Regions from separate parts of the Homo sapiens genome. Here all the other regions are linked to region 4. The links are contacts of gene promoters, found by promoter capture Hi-C in blood cells and fetal thymus (Javierre and others, 2016). All regions are on one chromosome and are shown on one strand. Each heading gives the region's core, a stretch centred on a gene start or on the middle of the fragment in contact. The rest is flanking DNA. Distances are from core to core; before and after follow the strand shown. Region 1 overlaps METAP2 (methionyl aminopeptidase 2). Region 2 holds the start of USP44 (ubiquitin specific peptidase 44). Region 3 has its middle 18 kb from the start of USP44. Region 4 holds the start of SLC25A3 (solute carrier family 25 member 3). Region 5 overlaps USP44 (ubiquitin specific peptidase 44).

Region 1 (2,700 bases), core at 162-2,661, 3.1 Mb before region 4:
ACGCTCAGTCTCATTTTCTTAGTCCGTTTTGTGCTGCTACAGCAGAATACCTGAGACTAGGTAATTTATAAAGAACAGAAATTGATTTCTCACAGTGTTGGAGGCTGGGAAGATTGAGGGACTGGCATCTGGTGAAGGTCTTCTTGCTGCATCATCCTATGGCATTAGGCAGAAGGGCAATGAGAAGTTTGAGAGAGAGAGCAAGAAATGGTCAAACTTGTCCTTTACAGGGAACCCACTCCTGAGATAATGGCTTGAATTCATTGATGAGAGTGGTGCCTCCATGGCCCAAACTCCTCCTGTTAGGTCCCACCTCCCAACACCATCACACTGGGGATGAAATTCCCAATACATGACCTTTGGGGGATACATTCAAACCATAGCAGCAATACACTGCTTTCCAATTACAGCAGCCTGCCTCTAGTGAGCCACCATCTTGGCTTGTGGGGTCAGTTTGCCAGGTCTTAGAGAAATAGTAATGATGTCTGAATTTTAAAATATATTTAGCTTATCAGCACTGCAAGTATGAAAGGATTTTCATTTGCTTTTCTTTATGTCTTTACTACCTAATTATGCATCCCTAAACTAGTTTTATTGCCTAATTTTGAACTATTATATATATGTGGAATTGTACAGTATATATGTAATTGTGCCTTTTTCTGCTCATTTTGTCAGTTTTAAAACAACTGGAATAAAAAAGCTAGACGTTTTATTCCAGTTGTTAAATGTATTCCTAGCTTTTTGTTTTGATTGTTGAATGTTATTCCCTCGTGAATATGCCACAATTTGTCTATTCTGTCCTTGCTGTCATGACAGTGGGATGTTTAGATTTTCTTTCTTCTTTCTTACTTCTATTTCTTAATTACTGTGTCTCAGCCACATAGGTTTTCTTTTTGAACATTTGAAATGTTGATATAAAGTTTTATAATACTGTCATATTAACAGTATCTTTCACATTATCTTTTGGTCTGTAACAATACAAATATGTATTTTTTATGTTTCTAATAATTTGTGTACATGGCATTTTATTTGTTGTTAACAGTACCTCCTTATACCTCCTTAGATGACCTCCCTTGTGCCCTTAATCCTGTATTTCTTTCTTCCATCCTCCCTTCTAGCACCGTTTTTTTTTTTTTTTTTTTTTTTTGAGACGGAGTTGCTTTCGCCCAGGCTGAAGTGCAGTGATGTGATCTTGGCTCACGGCAACCTCCGCTTCCCGGGTTCAAGTGATTCTCCTGCCTCAGCCTCCTGAGTAGCTGGAATTACAGGCCCCCACCACCACACCCAGCGAATTTTTGTATTTGTAGTAGAGACAGGGTTTCGCCATGTTGGTCAGGCTGGTCTCGAACTCCTGACCTCAGGTGATCCGCTTGCCTCGGCCTCCCAGAGTGCTGGGATTACAGGCATGAGCCACTGCACCTGGCCTACTTCTAGTATTAATAACACTGCAACTACTTTTTATATTCCACTAGATTCCAGTTTATATTAAACTACCTTAATGTAAGGTTATTTAGTAAAGCCATACCTGGTTTTTGAATAAATGCTTGAACTCTGTACCAAAATGTAAGAGATCTGTTTTTGCTTCTTGAGATCCTGAATGACTTTTATTTCCCTATTTTTTATAACAGTGAAACCAATCCGTAATCTAAATGGACATTCAATTGGGCAATATAGAATACATGCTGGAAAAACAGTGCCGATTGTGAAAGGAGGGGAGGCAACAAGAATGGAGGTATGTGTGTCACTAACATTTTACTTCCATGGAAGACATTTTTTTCTTCCAAGCAGAAGGTCATGGTAGTTAAATATATGGTTATACTGACCAGAATTAGCTGCTTATCATCCATATTCACCCTGCCAGGAATTGGGCCATTTGAATTTGCAAATTGTGTATAGTCAGCACTAAATCAGTTGTGGAAATTGGGGCTGTGAAAGGGTTGTTTATTCAACATTTAATGAATATTTATTGAGCATTCTCAGGTGCCAGTCTCTTTATAGTAGGCTCTAGGGGTAGAGCTGTGAACATAATTCATAGGGGGAAGCAGAAAGACCAAAAAGTGCTAAGGAGATAAAGCAGGGCAAGGCTAGATAAGGACCGCCAGGGGCTATTTCATGTTGCTGCTTAATCAGGTAGAGACTTCAAGAGATGGTAATTGTAGGCCAGGCTCGGTAGCTCAGGCCTGTTAATCCCAGCACTTTGAGACACCAAGGCAGGCAGATCACCTGAGTGAGGTCAGGAGTTTGAGACCATCCTGGCCAACATGGTGGAACCTTGTATCTACTAAAAATACAAAAATTAGCCAGGCATGGTGGCACGTGCCTGTAGTCCCACCTACTCGGGAGGCTGAGGCAGGAGAATCGCTTGAACCTGGAAAGTGGAGGTTGCAGTGAGCCAAGATCTCACCACTGCACTCCAGCCTGGCAGCAGAGAGAGACTCTGTCTCAAAAAGAGAGAGAGAGAAAGAGAGATGGTAATTGTGATTCGTTCTGAATTTTTCTTCTTTCTCTCCCCTTGACCCTTATTTATTTTTCAGGAAGGAGAAGTATATGCAATTGAAACCTTTGGTAGTACAGGAAAAGGTGTTGTTCATGATGATATGGAATGTTCACATTACATGAAAAATTTTGATGTTGGACATGTGCCAATAAGGTGAGAGACGAGACGATTGATTTTATGTGGCTAATTAGCATCTCTTCTGA
Region 2 (2,700 bases), core at 32-2,531, 3.0 Mb before region 4:
AAAAAAAAAAATCTGATATAACACAGGAAGTTCTTATGTTAACAAAATAGATACAAAATAGCAACAATGTCTAATCAATTCATGTTTGAAAAAAATACCAAATATGTACATTAAGGTTACAACTGCATAAAATGTAGTCATGCAAATAAAGATTAAAGGGATGAATTTGCATAGTTTAATACTCATTTTGTTCTTTTTTCTATATATTTAAGTGCATAATAATTCTGATTCAATAATGACCCCAGTGCACTTCTCCCACTCAAAACATCTAACCTCTATGTTGTACTTTTGCCCACCACCTGAATTTCTCAAATGCATTAAAAGCATTACATGAGGGCATCTCTTAAGATGAAATATTTAAAATTTAAGTATTTCTGGCATGCAATATGGTTTTTCCTGTAATTCCTTGAAAGCAAAATATTAATAATAGAAAAATCAAAACTCTTGCTTTCCTATTATAATGCCATAAAACCATTCTGGAAGGTCGTTTGGGAGATAGGAAGAGTCTTAGTTGCCTCCCTCTGATCTAGTAATTGGGCGGGGTCTTTTAAGGACTAAAATGATGTGAATAAATGAAGAGAAAAAGTGAAATGGGAAGAAAAGCAAAGGCAAGCTGTGTAAGGCATAGGTGGAGAGTGCTGAATAGTGTCTTCAATAAAATGCCTTAATACAATGATGTAAGCTAGGAAGAGGTGCGGAGTGGGAAGGGAAGAGGCTGGAGACAAATTCTCATTACTAGTGTTAGTAATTAAAGAGCAGATGTTTGTAGTTTAGCTTTTTCTTCATACTTATTACTACTTATTCAACTTTGAAATTTCCTCAGCTACCATTTTATTCATGATCTTCACTATCTAGGCCTAAATTATAGCATGCTCTAGCTCATTTCCTGAGCTCCAGAACCTCTCTATTGCAATTTTATTTTTACATAGCAATCATAGTCATTCTTCTCCTTAAATTTTCCTATTTGTTTTTTAACCCGTCTCATCGAATCTAAGCTTTTTACTGTAACATTAAAAAAAAGAAAAGAAAAAAGCCTCCTTCCCTGCCCACCTTCATCAATGATGTCCCCAAACTTACCTATTAAAACCTCAAAATCAGTCTTTCCCCAGGTCGGCCTTTGGATAACTCAGAGGTCAGTCCCTGCAGGATCGCCCAGTTTCCATCAGGGCAAATGCTGATCTCCTAAGTGAAAAGTCCTGGCGGCTGCCTCCAGTGCCCCCCTGCAAATCATTACAAATCAACCTCTTTCAGGTTTGGCTTAAACTCTCACCTCCTGGAAACTGCTTTCCTGAAGTCACAAACCGGGCGTGCAGATCCCCATCCCCCACCCCCAGCAGTGCATTATTATGCAGTCACTGCTTTTGTTCCGAGTTCTGAGCCTGCTTCTATTTGCATCGTAACCTCTTTGGGGGCCGGGACTGTGCACTTGCTCCCTTTCTATACCTCTCCACAGTTCCTAGTACCGGCCAAAAACACTGCTGAAATGCCTAATGAATCAACCAGAAGTTCCTTAGCATAATATAGGAGCGTGGAAGTGATGTTTAGGGGGGCTTCCCTTGCTTCCCTGATCCCCAGATGGAGAGAAATGGCAATTTGCCCTTCCAAGGTAAGCAGTTTCCTAAACCAGATAAAATTTTAACGATTCTGAAACCTAATGGATGTGTAACTACTCAATTCTGAGTTACTACACAAACAGTTTTGCCCTTTGTATCCTGAGAGAAAAGTACGAATGAATTAAAAGAAGACAAAACATTGTAAATTTCATAAACCTCAGAGTGGCTTTTTATGCTTTATGTCGATTTTTAGAATTTCCTAGTCCAGTCTTTCATGAATCGAAGAATATTTCAGGAATCATAATTGCAGACTAAAGAATTTATGAGCTTGTGAAATTTTAGGAATCACTTTTAAGACTTTTCAGAGTTTTACAGACAATGCTCTTACCTAATAACTAATATTCGCTTAACATTTTTTTCAACACCTAAATGCCTGGCACCATGCTAAGCATTGAGATATTCATAGCATTCATTTCAATGGTTATGAGGAGATGAAGGATTGAGCAGAGGAAGTGGGTAAAGAAACGCTAAATAACTCAGCCATAAACTTTTGATTAAGGTGTAGCAACACACTTCAGTTGAACTTTTTAAATGAGAGGAACCCAAACGACCTTAAATTTCTGGCAAATATGAAAGAAAGGAGTTGAGAAAAAAGGAGTATGGAAAAAAGAGCAGCAGATGTAAGCTATGGCCTTAGTGGAGGAAAGTGAGTAGAAGGGGCTTTAGAATTCGCCTTTTTTCTTTAATTCTAAGAATGAGGTTGGTAGCAGGTAAGGAAGGTAAATGCCAGCTGAGTAGATGGTACCAAAGTTGATTTGTTTTTAAAAGACCATTGTTTATTTGGTGGTCTGTCAGGGAAACTTGTACCTTGCAGGTGAATTTCCAACATAGGCCTACTGGAAACTGAAACCCTGAGCCCCAGGGTTTAGGTATAAATGGAAGCAAAATTGTGAAGTGAGTCCATTTCTCCCCCTTTTTAAACATAAACATCCACTCCACCTCCACCCTATACTCAGTTTTTCTTTTCTTTTCTTTTCTTTTTTTTTTTTTTTTTGAGACAGAGTCTCGCTCTGTCACCCAGGTTGGAGTGCCGTGGCGTGATCTCGGCTCACTGCAACCTCCGCCTCCCGGGTTCAAGCAGTTCCCC
Region 3 (2,700 bases), core at 28-2,527, 3.0 Mb before region 4:
CACCACTGCACTCAAGCCTGGGCGACAGAGCGTGACTCCGTCTCAAAAAAAACAAAAAACAAAAAAAGTTCAGAAACATACATTTCTCTCTCTCTCTCTCTCTTCTTCTTCTTCTTTTTTTTTTTATGAGACAGAATCTCACTCTGTCACCCAGGCTAGAGCGCAGTGGTGCAATCTCAGCTCACTGCAGCCTCCACCTCCTGGGTTTGACTGATTCTCCCGCCTCAGCTTTCCAAGTAGCTGGGACTGCAGGAGTGCGCCACCACATCCGGCTCTCTCTCTCTCTCTTTTTTTTTTTTTTTTTTGTATTTTTGGTAGAGACAGGGTTTCACCATGTTGGCCAGGCTGGTCTCCAACTCCTGACCTCAAGTGATCTGCCCGCCTCGGCTTCCCAAAGTGCTGGGATTACAGGCATGAGCCACCGCGCCCAGCCTTTCTCTGATATTTTAAAATCATGACTCTATAATAGTTATTGGTGAATACAAAATGTTGAAAACCTCCGGTTTATACCTGCTGCCTCCATTTTGTTTTCTTTTTCTTTTCTTTCTTTTCTGTCTTTTTTTTTTTTTTTTTTTTTTTTTTTTTGAGACGTAGTCTCGCTCGGTCACCCAGGCTGGAGTGCAGTGGCGCAATCTCGGCTCTCGGCTCACTGCAAGCTCCGCCTCCCGGGTTCACGCCATTCTCCTGCCTCAGCCTCCTGAGTAGCTGGGACTACAGGCGCCCGCCACCTTGCCTGGCTAATTTTTTGTATTTTTAGTAGAGACCAGGTTTCACCATGTTAGCCAGGATGGTCTCGATCTCCTGACCTCGTGATGCGCCGGCCTCGGCCTCCCAAAGTGCTGGGATTACAGGCGTGAGCCACCGCGCCCGGCCACTGCCTCCATTTTCTTTATGTTTGCTTCTTCCTTAGCTGCCTACACTGAGGCTTCCCCTCTTACTGCTTTGGAAATGTTCTCTTGAAACAAAGCTACCAACAATTCCTTTCTTGTCAAATTCAAAAGCCACTGATTTTACTTCACTATTTGCCAACGCTGATCGTGCTTCTTTTCTTGAAACATTCTCTTCATTTTCACTGTCAGACCATACATCATCCTGGATGCATCCGGACAGAATGAGAACTGTGGCTGCTGCTGCTCCTACTGTAATTGTTACTCCTTTTACTTAGTAGTCATCTTTCCTTCACTGCTTACTGTAATTTCCACAGCAACCCTGAGGAGATCGGTATTATTATCCCCATTTTACAGTTGAGGAAACATGCTCAAAATTTAATCAACGGGTTCAAATTCACACACCAGAACAGGATCTGCTCTGGGAAATGTTAGATTTTGCAACGGAAAAGAAGAAAAAGTTTTTTCTAACTGGATCACAGCATACTATGTTGTTTATATTTAGATTAACTAGACTTTGTTTTATTCCATTTATCTGTAGTTTTGGGAAGTACTGTACATTTGGAAAGATGTCATTTCAAGTAATTTTTCTACCCAGGCTGTCCATTTACAATTACCTGGTCACCTTTGAATCACTTTCACCAAAATCAGAGAAGGTGGCTAGATAGCAAGTTGTGATATGCCACTGATTTTTTTTTCTCCCTTTTCAAGTTAAGTGGCTCCTGTAAGAATGGCCATGCAACCTTGGATTTATTCAGAGAATGCTCTAACCACATACACTACATCAAAAAGTATAGTCTCAGAATTTGACAGATGACAATAAAAATTTCCAATTAAACTATGTATTATAAATTGTTCAATTTTTGGCAGAGTGGATCTTATTGAAGGCACCATAATGATAAGGTAGGATTTAGTTACATACTTTAATTACATACATACTTTGTTTTCTCAAGCAAATGTGTAACAATGGTGTGATCTAGCTACAAAATATTTCCTTAAGATTTTTGTTGGCATGTCAGTGCTAACAATTAGGAATTAAGTGTTTTAAATTTAATCTGAAATTAGTGGTTTAAATACAATGATAAATGGTTTTCATGGTTGTCAGCCTTCATTTAATGTTATATTAAACCTCTTGAGTATGTTATACCACTACTTTGTTATTTAACTGATGGATCTGAAAACCCATAAAGATGCAGTATTTGTCTTACAAATAGCAAATGTATAGTCTTTGATTTGATCATTTAATGTACCCTTTTTTACACAGCCATTTGGCTTTAATCCTGTAACAGGTTATTGTCACTTGTCTTTTCTTTATCTACCAAAATGCCTTCAGTCATTTCATGAATAAATCAATGGAGGGAAGAGAGAAATATGAGTTATCCCAAAGATATATTAATGGCATTATTCCAATATAAATGGAATGAGGAAAAGAAGAATTATGCATTAGTAATGATGTTTTTCATTGCAGAGCAATTTCTACCTCGCAAAGGATTTTCATACAGATCCTCTTTCTTCATACTTAGCATTATATAGCTGAGGAAATTATAGTATTAAGTGACTTGTCTGAAGCCACACAGCAAGCATCAGATCTGGAATTAGAAAGCAAGTCTTCTCATGACCAGCCATTGTTCTTTTATAGTTTACCTTATAGATGGCATGAAAGTGACTTTTTTGTGGAATAGTTATTACAACTTCTCACCCCCCAATGTATCTACTTGTGAAAATAATGGGTTTTTTGTTTTGTTTTGTTTTGTTTTGTTTTGTTTTTTGAGACGAGTCTCGCTCTGTCGCCCAGGCTGGAGTGCAGTGGCGC
Region 4 (2,700 bases), core at 135-2,634:
GACATTATCTCATTGAGTTCTCATAGACTCTGCAAGGTAAGTATTACTCCCATCCAGAACCAGACACCTGATTTGCAGGGTCCAGTGCAAACTAAAAAAAGCGTGGCCCCTTGTTCATACATGTATTAAGAATTTCAAGCCGGGCATGGTGGCTCAGGCCTGTAATCCCAGCACATTGGGAGGCCGAGGTGGGCGGATCACCTGAGCTCAGGAGTTCGAGACCAGACTGGCCAACGTGACGAAACTCTGTCTCTACTAAAAATAGAAAACTTAGCCGGGCGTGGTTGTGCACGCCTGTAGTCCCAGCTACTCCGGGGGCTGAGACAGGAGAATCGCTTGAACCCGGGAGGCGGAGGTTGCGGTGAGCTGAGATCGCCCCACTGCACTCCAGCCTGGGCGACAGAGCAAGACTCCATCTCAAAAGAAAAAAAAAAAAAATCAAAATGACAGCAGAGCATTAAATGAAGTGTAAGGCCATGTGTGACTGTACCAGTGTGAACCTATGAGGCCAGTCCCACCCCTATCTTACATCTAGGGAACAGGTACACAGAGATGAAGTAAATTCCCAAGGTTACTTTGTCAAGAGCTTGGAAAATATAAGAGTCAGAAGTCTAACAGGTTGAATCCCTATTAAACTCTCCCCAACTAAACTACGCCCCTCCCTGTTGAGCTGAATCTAATGAAAGCTTCCTAAATGTATTAACCACACACACGCACAATCTGCTATCAGTCACTTTCAGTAGTTCATCGCTGTAACATCTCAGGAGTTCAATGTTTCAACGTGTTCTGTAGATTACTGTGATAACGCGGCAAGCTGTCGTAAGACTTCTTGCTGCACATTTCTTTTTAAAATATTCTCCAGGAGTCTGATGAAAAATACAGACATACCTATGTTTAATGTCAATGGATGGAACTTATTTTAAAAAGTACTGTAATGGCAGAAGTTGTGACACAAAGTACTGCAGTGATGTTGTAACTCCAACACCTAAATATATTATCAAGCATTCGCGTTTTGTTTTGTTTTTTAAGTGACTACTAGATACTGTGATTCACTTAAGTGAAGCGAACTGAAGCCCGTGGTCAAGGAGAGACACCTGAAGGTGAAGGGACAAAGCGAGCAGGGTAAGAGCTCGAGCCCGACCCCTCTCAAAAAATATAGACCCGGAACGCGCGCCTGCGCAGAACGAATCCTCCCGCGCACAAGCCGGGCGGAAGAGCTGGGGCGGGCAGGGGCGGGAATAAGGTTGCTAGGAGAACGCGATGACGCTACGGGCTCGGCGCTCTTCTCCACCAATGGGCGACGCGTACTTGCAGTGGCGCGCTGTGTGCGTCACGCCGACGACGCGCGAAGGGCACACATCTTAGGACCCGGAGGACGTCCGGCCTCTGTGAGCCGCAACCTTTCCAAGGGAGTGGTTGTGTGATCGCCATCTTAGGGAGTGAGTGTGGCCGGGCCTTCTCCTGTGGCGGGTGTGGGGAGCGGAGCCCAGAGCTCCTGTGGGGCCGCTGCTTTGGCGGTGGGCCCAGCCGGGAGCAGCCTCTTTCGAAGGCCGCCGTGACCTCTTCAAGGGCGTGGAGACGGGAAGGAAAAGGCCCCGGTTGGGGTTCCAGGGCGCCGGTAACGTTAACCGGCGCCTTGCCTGTCCTCTAACCGTCGCTCCCTCCTCCCCTAGAAAGATGTTCTCGTCCGTGGCGCACCTGGCGCGGGCGAACCCCTTCAACACGCCACATCTGCAGCTGGTGCACGATGGTCTCGGGGACCTCCGCAGCAGCTCCCCAGGGCCCACGGGCCAGCCCCGCCGCCCTCGCAACCTGGCAGCCGCCGCCGTGGAAGGTGAGATCAGACCCTGCCCAATACAGTCGTGTGGTCTACTTGTGGGCCGCCCAGCCTTTGAGGCCTGGACCCGGCTTGGAGGACAGGGAAGGACGAGTCCAGCCCGCTGCACCGTAGGACGGCGCCCAGTTGCTTGCCCTGGGGTATCGGCCTTTTCCACCATAGGCGGGTGTCAGATCCTTGGCCTTCCCTCAAGGGCGTGGAAGCGCTGAGGCCCTGTGTCCCTTCGTGACCTCCGTGTGCCCGAGGGAAGAGAGGCCGTGACTAGCTCTTTCTCCGCCGTGAGCTCGCTTGGTCAGCAAACTAAGTACTGGGTAAACTCTCCTCCCGAAACTACTGACCACCCACAGTTCTACTAACTATATTACCTGTCCTTTGATTTGCCCTTAGTTTTCTTAAAAATAGTCCTTTCCTAAGTTTTATATTTGTCGACGCCAGGTCAGTCATTTTTGCACTTAATTGTATATGAGATAACTAGATGTCCTGTTTTCGTGCGACTGGAGGAGGCAGCTTGCAGCCCTACATAGGCAATAGAAAGGAGATAATTGGTGGGCGTCCCTTTGGTGTGATTATCTCTTGGGATTCTTGGTGGTTGGGCCCAGCTTTAACTTAGTTGTGTGTGTTTTAAATCCTAGTGAAGTATGTACATACAGAGAAACCTGAAAACCGAATTGTAGGAGTCCTAAGAATGTTATCTACCTTGTGCCTGTAAAATCGAAAGATTTTTTTCTTTAAATCATTCATGTGCTTCTGTTGTCTTTAGTATGGATAGAGTCCTTATTTACACTATCTGTCGTTCAGTTTAAAAGTTAAAGCTAACATTATTTGTGTATTAAATGTATTTGACTGCAGGAATTTGTGCGTAT
Region 5 (2,700 bases), core at 140-2,639, 3.1 Mb before region 4:
TGAGACCAACGCCCACTTTCCAGACCACATGACTTGGAACAAAGTATGCAATTCATGACAAAGAGAAATGTACTGTGAAGTTGGCTCCTTTGGCTGAATAAGTTCCATCTTTCTACCTTTTGATGCTCCACCACTTAGTCCTGATGACAGACTTGATTGTCTGGAGCAAACAAAACCTGTATCTTTTTCCTGACATTCATTCATTTGATATACTACTGTATCTGTGACTGGTGGATGCTTACAAGATCTTGTCTTCTCGCTAGCAGTCATAGCCAGCCATTGGTTCAGATCAAGCTTTAAAAAACATTGTCGAAAAATAAGTAAATGACTCAACACCTGAAGAACAGAATTCATATAGCAAGTATTTCCCAAATTTCTCAATCCTGTTACACCAGGAGTTACTATTGGCCTTCGTTTAACTGAGGAGTCACTGACTTTTTGAGATATTTCATTTTCTGAGGTAGAGAGTACTTTATCTTTTGCTGGTGATGCTGGCGTTTGTGCTGGCACCTGAACAGAAACTATTTCTATTATGGTCGACTGAGCGAGCCCTTGTAAACGTAAACTCTTTCTTGGAGGCATACTTTCCAATTCTGCTTTAACTTGATACTCCAATTCCTGCCGTCTTTTCTTTACTTCTCTTTTTACTACTATTTTTTCCTGAAATGGTTCTTCTTGCTTTTTTCTTCCAATGGGTGATTGTTCAAACCATGTTCGAAAGATTTTACCCATTAGTATCCTTCTCCTGTGCCAAAGAGCAGTATACAGTTGATCTTCACTTTGAAGCAGAGATTGGGCACCGTCATGTAAGAAATAAGAATCATCACCTGTACCCATGGACCGTAAAAACCTCCCACTACGAGTTGTGCAGTGATAATTTTGACTTTTGATGGCACTTAATGTACGTCGTAGTAACTTCAGGTCTCCAGTTGTGTTATCATTCAGAACATAATCATCACAAAGGTAACAAAAAACGTACATCTCATTCACCTCCAATGCAACAGGATGACTGCTTTCTTGAAAGTGCTTGAGTGCATGCTCTTCAATATATCTTCCACAGGCAACATGGGAGCAGCTAAGGCAAGCCCAAATGGACTCGGTCGTGTTGCAGTCCACACAGTGCCATTTCTGAGGGTTGAGGCTGGAATGGTCTTGAGCAAGCTGCAGCTGCCCAACATGTTTGCACGTATCCATTGCTAGCATTTATTTAGTCTAGCTGAGAAATGCATAATCCAAACAAGTCTCTGTTCACAACACTTGAAGCATCTGAAAACTAAACAGAACAATGTCAAGTGTTAATAACAAGATGCTAATATTTTTCATATTTTTTCCCAAGAATAATAAAGATTTGTGTCCTCTGCTCCCAATTTCTAGGCTGCTTATCATAATACCATTGGCAGTTCTCCCATTTCCCTTTCTCTAAACTTCCCTAACCTCACATCCACCTTGCTCTGAAAGCACAGACACTTCACTTTCTCTAATGAGGCGCCTTTAGCTTTTGTTTTTAACTTTCTGCCACCATCTAGTGGTGAAAAATGGGTAGTAATCACTTTCCACTGAAATAGCTTAAGATCTATCCTTTTTTACCCAGTAGTCTGAGGGCAGTTTCCAAAACTGCATTCCCTTTTTTTTTTTTTTTTGAGACAGAGTCTTGCTCTGTGGCCCAGGCTGGAGTGCAGTGGTGCGATCTCAGCTCACTGCAACCCCTGCCTCCTGGGCTCACGTGATTGCTGTGCCTCAGCCTCCCGGGTAGCTGGGATTATAGGAGTGCACCACCACATTCAGCTAATCTGTTTTTCGTATTTTTACTAGAGACAAGGTTTCGTCATGTTGCCCAGGCTGGTCTTGAACTCCTGAGCTCGGGTCATCTACCCGCCTTGGCCTCCCAAAGTGCTGGGATTACAGGCGTGAACCACTGTGCCTGGCCCCTTTTCTTAATGACAGGGGTTGGCAAGACCCAAATATATCTCACTAATATTTATAAACATTATGAGCCTTATGTGGAGTTAATAAAACATAATCAAAGATGAAAAGGTGAGTTTTAAGGCAGAAAAACATAGGTTTGAATTGTACCTTTGCCACACACTGTTAAATGTATGATTTTGAGCAAATGTTTTAACTTCTCTAAACCATCTGTAAAAGAGGGAAAATCATACCAACTTCAATTGAGTTGTTGAAGAACTGAGAGATAATATTTATCTGACACATGGTAAATGGTAGTTTTAATTGTATCTATAGTGAACGAATCTTATTACCCTATTTAAATAAATCATATTACCATTAAACTTATTTTTTTCCATTTGGTAAATCAATAATTACCTTTAATTCATGGCTCTATAACATACTCTGAGGCCGAACAGACTTGACAGTTGGCTTTAGGGAAAGAGAAAGACAGAAGAGGAGAATGTGCTTTTGTATTTGAATATTCTCAGAAACATACAAGGAAATAAAGAGAAAAAAAGGAAGAATATGAAGTGGGTGGCAATAAGCTTTTATTACATTCTAGCAGGCCTAAACCTATCTGAAATTATAAGCTTATTTTTTTAAAAAAGCTTATGTGATTTTTGACACAGAACTTGTTCCTTTATCAGTTAAAGTCAGGAACACTTCTGCTGTAAGTTATTTACATGTAATGAACAGAAATCTTATTTAAAAAGCCGTGATCACAAACACTTTTTTCATTGATTTAATACAAATCAA

Evidence for each region. The method cuts DNA at HindIII sites, captures the fragments that hold promoters and counts their contacts. A CHiCAGO score of 5 or more calls a contact.
Region 1: a fragment that was not itself captured here is called in contact with the fragment with the promoter of SLC25A3 in region 4 in 1 of 17 cell types (total CD4 T cells); the score reaches 6.1 in total CD4 T cells.
Region 2: the fragment with the promoter of USP44 here is called in contact with the fragment with the promoter of SLC25A3 in region 4 in 4 of 17 cell types (non-activated CD4 T cells, activated CD4 T cells, naive CD8 T cells and 1 more); the score reaches 8.6 in non-activated CD4 T cells.
Region 3: a contact is called between a fragment that was not itself captured here and the fragment with the promoter of SLC25A3 in region 4, in 1 of 17 cell types (total CD4 T cells). The highest score is 6.6, in total CD4 T cells.
Region 5: a fragment that was not itself captured here is called in contact with the fragment with the promoter of SLC25A3 in region 4 in 1 of 17 cell types (non-activated CD4 T cells); the score reaches 6.2 in non-activated CD4 T cells.

What each region holds. Positions count from the first base shown.
Region 1 is chr12:95,510,267-95,512,966 of GRCh38, forward strand. METAP2 (methionyl aminopeptidase 2) reads left to right here. Exons shown (of 11, transcript NM_006838.4): 9 at 1,629-1,732; 10 at 2,535-2,650. Among named protein-coding and RNA genes, the nearest start is that of METAP2, 37 kb to the left of the region's middle. The HindIII fragment of the contact is 4,818 bases long and covers 1-2,700 here.
Region 2 is chr12:95,550,195-95,552,894 of GRCh38, forward strand. USP44 (ubiquitin specific peptidase 44) reads right to left here and starts at 1,282. Exons shown (of 6, transcript NM_032147.5): 1 at 1,078-1,282. The HindIII fragment of the contact is 4,508 bases long and covers 994-2,700 here.
Region 3 is chr12:95,568,059-95,570,758 of GRCh38, forward strand. No RefSeq gene overlaps it. Among named protein-coding and RNA genes, the nearest start is that of USP44, 18 kb to the left of the region's middle. The HindIII fragment of the contact is 4,783 bases long and covers 1-2,700 here.
Region 4 is chr12:98,592,302-98,595,001 of GRCh38, forward strand. It overlaps SLC25A3 (solute carrier family 25 member 3), which reads left to right and starts at 1,385. Exons shown (of 8, transcript NM_002635.4): 1 at 1,385-1,439; 2 at 1,674-1,834. The coding sequence starts at 1,678. RefSeq lists enhancers at 907-1,126, 1,175-1,799, 1,377-1,476, 1,800-2,424. The HindIII fragment of the contact is 3,126 bases long and covers 685-2,700 here.
Region 5 is chr12:95,533,054-95,535,753 of GRCh38, forward strand. It overlaps USP44 (ubiquitin specific peptidase 44), which reads right to left. Exons shown (of 6, transcript NM_032147.5): 2 at 1-1,273. The coding sequence starts at 1,203. Among named protein-coding and RNA genes, the nearest start is that of USP44, 17 kb to the right of the region's middle. The HindIII fragment of the contact is 2,195 bases long and covers 293-2,487 here.